2 separate regions of the Homo sapiens genome follow, and region 1 is linked to region 2. Evidence: promoter capture Hi-C in human tissues and cell types (Jung and others, 2019). All regions are on one chromosome and are shown on one strand. The core of a region is centred on a gene start or on the middle of the fragment in contact, and the rest is flanking DNA. Distances in the headings are between cores, read along the strand shown. Region 1 overlaps ZNF805 (zinc finger protein 805). Region 2 holds the start of ZNF446 (zinc finger protein 446).

Evidence for each region. The method cuts DNA at HindIII sites, captures the fragments that hold promoters and counts their contacts. A contact is called where the count stands out against the background at its distance.
Region 1: a contact is called between a fragment that was not itself captured here and the fragment with the promoter of ZNF446 in region 2, in 1 of the 25 tissues and cell types used here (spleen).

What each region holds. Positions count from the first base shown.
Region 1 is chr19:57,258,480-57,261,274 of GRCh38, reverse strand. ZNF805 (zinc finger protein 805) reads right to left here. Exons shown (of 4, transcript NM_001023563.4): 4 at 1-2,795. Among named protein-coding and RNA genes, the nearest start is that of ZNF805, 19 kb to the right of the region's middle. The HindIII fragment of the contact is 9,939 bases long and covers 1-2,795 here.
Region 2 is chr19:58,475,098-58,477,988 of GRCh38, reverse strand. It overlaps ZNF446 (zinc finger protein 446), which reads right to left and starts at 1,637. Exons shown (of 7, transcript NM_017908.4): 1 at 1,485-1,637; 2 at 429-810; 3 at 163-352. The coding sequence starts at 770. ZNF324 (zinc finger protein 324) reads right to left here. Exons shown (of 4, transcript NM_014347.3): 4 at 2,553-2,891. RefSeq lists enhancers at 1,379-1,578, 1,733-2,027, 1,849-2,098, 2,339-2,398, 2,459-2,548. The HindIII fragment of the contact is 17,703 bases long and covers 1-2,891 here.

The DNA.
Region 1 (2,795 bases), core at 296-2,795, 1.2 Mb after region 2:
GCTTATGCAGGCATTAAAGAGTGAGTCTGGTTTATCTCATTTGCTTGAAGGAATGGCCAAGATGTACTGTCAAATAAGAATAGTAGATTATAAATAAATGAGCACAGTTTGACCCATTTTAGTAAAAACAAGTGATGACCAGGAAACAAAGACCCACCTTATGAGAAGCAATAAAGTGGTTAAGGACATGGATTCTGAAGCCAGTGCAGTGGCTTCCAGTCCCCAAACCCAAATTTCATAATTGTGAAATCTTTGACAAATTCCTTAATCTTTCTGTACCTCAGTTTTCTAATCAGTTAAAGGGGGGAAATAACATTATGGAGTTGTCATAAAGGTTAAAAGAGCTGACGCATGTAAAACATTCGAAACAATGTCTGATACACAGTAATAATTTGTGTTCTCTTATGATGATTATGGGTGCATCCCCACGGCCAAGGTCATGGCCACATGATACATGCATATAGGCTCAGTGAGTGCAAATACAGAAAAGGTGTGGAAGGATGACCAGTGGTTAACGACATGAGAAACATCCAACCTGGAGACACAGATTTAGGGAAACACTGTAGATAATTGAGAGTAAAGTGTCTTCAGCGCAAATTAACTCAGTCATGGGGTGAAGGACAAGTTAGAAAACAGCAATGATCATGATGGATGCTGGGAAGTAAAGCTGTTTTACAGATGGAAGAAAGACACAGACCCTAAAAAGGAAAAAAGCCAGGAATTCACAGAAGCCAGGAAAGGACCTTCAAGTCAGAGATTTAGCAGTATGGAGGTCCAAAAAGAGAGTGAGGGGGTCAAAAGGGACCTTTCTGAGACGTGCTTAAGTCAGGCAACGGTGGTGGAAGCCATTTAGTAGTATCTGGGGAGTAAAAGGAAATGTAAAGGGGTGGCGACAGTGCACAGAATAGTTACTCAGGGCATGTGTGTGGAAGAAAGAATAACCAGAGCTTGATAGGCAAGGAAGGGTGAAATAGGTTGGAAACGAGGCTTGAGATCCGACTAAAGCTATACATTATGGGAAAGAAGCTGGTTAATAAGGAGAAGTTAAAGACTAAACAAGAGTATGAAAGACAGAGGACTTAGACAAGTTTGGTTGGGGAAGGGTGTGTGTGTGTCTAATAAAAAAGTGTAAGAGTGATCTTAGAAAAGGAATGACCCCTTCTCCATTGAGGATATAACAAGGCTTACAGAGCTGGAGGATTTTACATACAACCTTCCCGTGGAGTACGTAACTCTGAATGATATGCAGATCACCCTGATATAAGATCTGTTGACAGAAATATTTAAGAAGCCCAATATAAAAGATTACAGGACTTCTACTCCTCCAGATAATTTAGGATTTCTATTCAAATATTGAGACAAACCACCAGAAAACCATGACTCTGGAATTTAGTTTTTTCTGTTTTCTGAGCCCTTTAGTATTATAAACTAAGCAAAGAAATCAAAGATGTACAAAAGAACCAAATGGAGGCCAGGCACAGTGGCTCACACCTGTAATCCCAGCACTTCGGGAGGCCGAGGCAGGTGGATCACCAGATCAGGAAATCGAGACCATCCTGGCTAACACAGTGAAACCCCGTCTCTACTAAAAATACAAAAAATTAGCCGGGCATGGTGGCGGGCACCTGTAGTCCCAGCTACTCGGGAGGCTGAGGCAGGAGAATGGCATGAACCCGGGAGGCAGAGCTTGCAGTGAGCAGAGATCGCGCCACTGCACTCCAGCCTGGGCAACAGAGCAAAGAGTCTGTCTCAAAAAAACAAAACAAAACAAAACAAAACAAATGGAAATTAAACAACTGAAAAATACAAAAACCAAAACGAAAACTCATTGGACAAGCTCAACAGTAGACTGCATATGGCAGAAAAAAAGAATCAGTGAGCTGAAAAAAAGTCAACAGAAATTAACCAATATGAAAAAAAGGGAAAAATAGACCAGAAAAAGGGGGTAAACATGAAAGCACAAGAGACCTCTGAGACAGTAACAAAAGCTCTACCATTCATATCACAGAGAGGAGAAAGAGTAGGGATGAAAAAATATTTCAAGAAATAATGGTTAAAAATTCCCAAATTTGGCAAAGGGCATAAACCGACAAATCAAAAAGCTAAACAAAAACCAAACATGATACACTCAAAAAAATTCCATGTCACACACCTCATAACCAAACTTCTGAACACTACAAAAAAAACAAAACACTTTGAACGCAGGTTGATAAAAATGGCACATTATGAACTAGGGAACAATGGTTCAAATGGCAACAGATTTCTCATCTGAAACCATAGCGGACAGAAGGAACAAACATGTTTCTCAAGTACTAAAAGAACTGCAGACCCTAAATCCTATTATCCCACAAAAATATCCCTCAGGAATGAAGGGAACATAAAGACACTTTTAGAGACACCAGCAGACTGACCCTAGAAAAAAGGTTACACAAGTTCGCCAAACAGAAAGAAAATGTTAATAGAAGGTGGCTTAGAATTTCAAGAAAGAATAGTGGAATGGGTAAAGAGATCAACAAGCAATACTTCCTGTGACTTTTGTAAAATATATTTGACAGTGGAAGCAAAAATTACATTTTCCAACATGGTGCTCAATTTTGAAGAGGAATTACTTTAGACAATTATATTAACAGGCAAGGTGAAGGGACCAAGTAAGGTTTCTATACATCAAAGTGCTAAATTTTTCATACCATTAACTGTAATTATGTTACATATGTACATTATACTACTTAAAGCAACCACTAAAAAATTAATACAAAAATACAAAGAAATATATTTAAAAAACACTACAAATATAT
Region 2 (2,891 bases), core at 388-2,887:
GCCCTTGGCTCCTGCCTCCCAGGTCCCCATCCCAGACAGGGACATCCACATTCACTTCAGGAGTCCCAGCCTTGACACACCTCTCCTGGGACTCCCACCCTAGCCAGGAATGTCCACACTTCCTCCAGGAGTCCCTCATCTCTGGTGGGACCCCAACCTCACCCACTTCCTGTCCATCGACATTGGGCTCCTCCTTCACACTGCAGCTGAGCTGGACAGACCCCTCTATTCTGGTGTCCTGGGGACCTTCCCCAGGGGACTCCACTGTCCCTGAGGGGTGGGGGCTCCCAAGTGGTTCCTCTGTCTTCTGGGCTGCAGGGAGCACCTCCTGCTTCAGGACATGGGCTGTGATCTGAGGAGAAGAGGTAGGTCACAATGGCTCTAGCCAGGGTCTATCCCTCCAAGAAGCTGATGCCAGCCACACTCACCCAGCCCAACAGTTGCCCAGGGTCATGCTGCAGTCCTTCGACTAGGGCAGCGGCCTCCTCAGGACTGCCTGGCCGCTGACCGCGCACCCAGGCCTGGATCTCGGGAGGCAGTGTGCCCAGGAACTGCTCCAGCACCAGCATCTCCAGCATCTGCTCCTTGGAGTGTGCCTCAGGCTGCAGCCACTGGCAACACAGCTCACGCAGCCGGGCCAGGGCTTCTCGGGGACCTGCCACCTCCTGGTAGCAGAACCCTCGGAAGCGGAGGCGGGCAGTCTCAGGCTCCTCAAGGGTGGTCTCTGGGTCCATGACGGGCAGGCATGGGGGACCCAGAGGGGATGGCATTCTTGCTCAAGGGGGTGGTCTTGGAATCGTCAAGATGGGCCTACAGAAAAGGAAGGGTCGGAATGTCAGCCAAGAGAATCTGGCCAGGGGAAGGCAGACACCAGGCTCAGCCCAGGGGGCTGAGACCAGGACCAAGTGTACTCTGAGGCCAGAAGAGATAAGGCCAAGAAAGCTTCATGGAAGGAGGAGGGTCACAGGACCCAAACAATGATGGCAAATGAGAGCAGGAGGAAGCCTCAGGGACAAATGCTTGGACGCAAGGTGTCCAGGGAGCTTCCTGGAAATTGCAAACAGTTGGGTCCAGCAGGGGACTGCTGGGAGATGACGCTAAAGAGGTGGAGAAAGACAGTCATCACAGAGTTCCAGCGCCAGGCTGAGGAGCCACAGTGTCTAGCCGAGGTGCGAGGAGAGTGGACCAGGGTGGGCGGGTAGAAGGTGGGGCCAGGCTGTAATGTACGGGGACGAGTCGCCCTCCACAATCTCGGGGAGGTTGACTGGGTGGGACCTCCTTTAGGAATGGCTCTGGGGAGGGGGCACGTGGACATCGTGCTCGCTGACCACAGCGAGCCGTGGGCGACTCACACTGCCGGGGCCCGTGCATGTGAAAACGAAAAGCAAAGGCCAAGAAAAACGGGGCCAAAGCTCCACGTTGCGCGGAGTCGAGGGATGGCCACAGCATCCCGGCCCTGAAGGTCTGCAGTGAAAGACGCCCACCTGGACGGGCCTGAGAGACCAGGCCTGACACCCGGCCTATCCGAGGGATGCTCGAACTTCGGGATCTGTCCCCAAAAGGGGAAGGCAAGAGGGAGGCGTTCCAAGAGGACTTGCCAGGCCCGGCCCCCCGGAACGGCGTTGAGGGTAGGAAAGGCCTGAGCGAAGGCTGAGGTGACGCGCGCGGCCTGTCGGGAAGTGGGCGGGCCCTCCAGGGCGCCGACAGCAGGAGCCGTTCAGGCCCCAGAGGGCGACCCCAAGCCCTCCCACGGGGTGGAAAGGCTGCGCCCACTCTGGCAGCCTGCGCTCACCTCAACCCGGAGCGGTTGCTTGGAGGCCGCTTCCCGGATGTGGCGCCGCACAACGCGGGGCGCCTCAGCCGGGTGTTGCCCCGGCGACGCCGCGCTGACCAATCTCTCGCCTGCACCGAAGGCACCGCCCATGCCCTTTGAACTACATTTCCCATGAGCATCAGCAAGACAGGCGCGACCGTGACCCGCTGACCCGCATTTGCAGCAGCCTCTGACGCCTGAGAGGCGCTCTGTTCCTCTAGGAGGTACGGCAGAGTCCCAGGGTTATATGGTCTCCCTCCGCTCTGAGAGCAGCTCTTCCCGGGTTATAAACTTGCGCGTCTGTACAGTGGGCCGGTTTCTATTGGCAGGTGAGGGGAGGGGGTTTTGCCCAATCAGAGGTGGCGCTTGCTTGGCCCCGCCGCCCCCACGCCATTCCCCGGGCCAGCCCCTAGATAACGCTAGGGCATATCCGCCCGCCTCCAGCTGTTCCCGTGGCAACGTTCAGGAGCGTTGCCTCGACTTCCGAAGAGGCTGGAAGTGGCGGCCCAGTGGTTTCCTAGGTCGAGTAGTTCGCTGGGACTCGCTTCCAAGTGGACCCGGGAGAGGCGGTGGTGTAGAAGACCACCCTGAGCCTGGGCTTTCTCCCGCCAGGAGGGTGCGAGGGCCATCTTTGACCTCTGTTAAGCGCCCTAAGGAGGTACCGACGGTTGTGACCGCAGTCTCTGACGTCTTCAGATGTCAGTCCTACAAAGTCGGGGGTGGAGGTTTCCCTCCAGGCTGATCGGACATGCTCAACCGTTTATTTACCTTTGAATTTGGGGAGCAGAACTAGCCAGGGTGACACTAGTTTCTCCCAATAAGCAGTGTTACAGTTTTCTAAATCTGTGGGGTCAGTTTTGCTTCCACACTTAAAAGTGGCCGAGCCATTACTTAGTCAGTCCTAAATTACACCGCCTGTTTTGGTTTCTTTGGATACCTGGGAATCCCTGCTGCCTGCTCTGGATGAAGAGCAGTGGTCTTGATCACCGATTGGAAGCACCGAGCATGTGCGTGGATGAGACTTGTCAACTCGGAGCTTTCCAACGGCCTCCTCAGGTTGTTTTTGGGGATGAGGTGC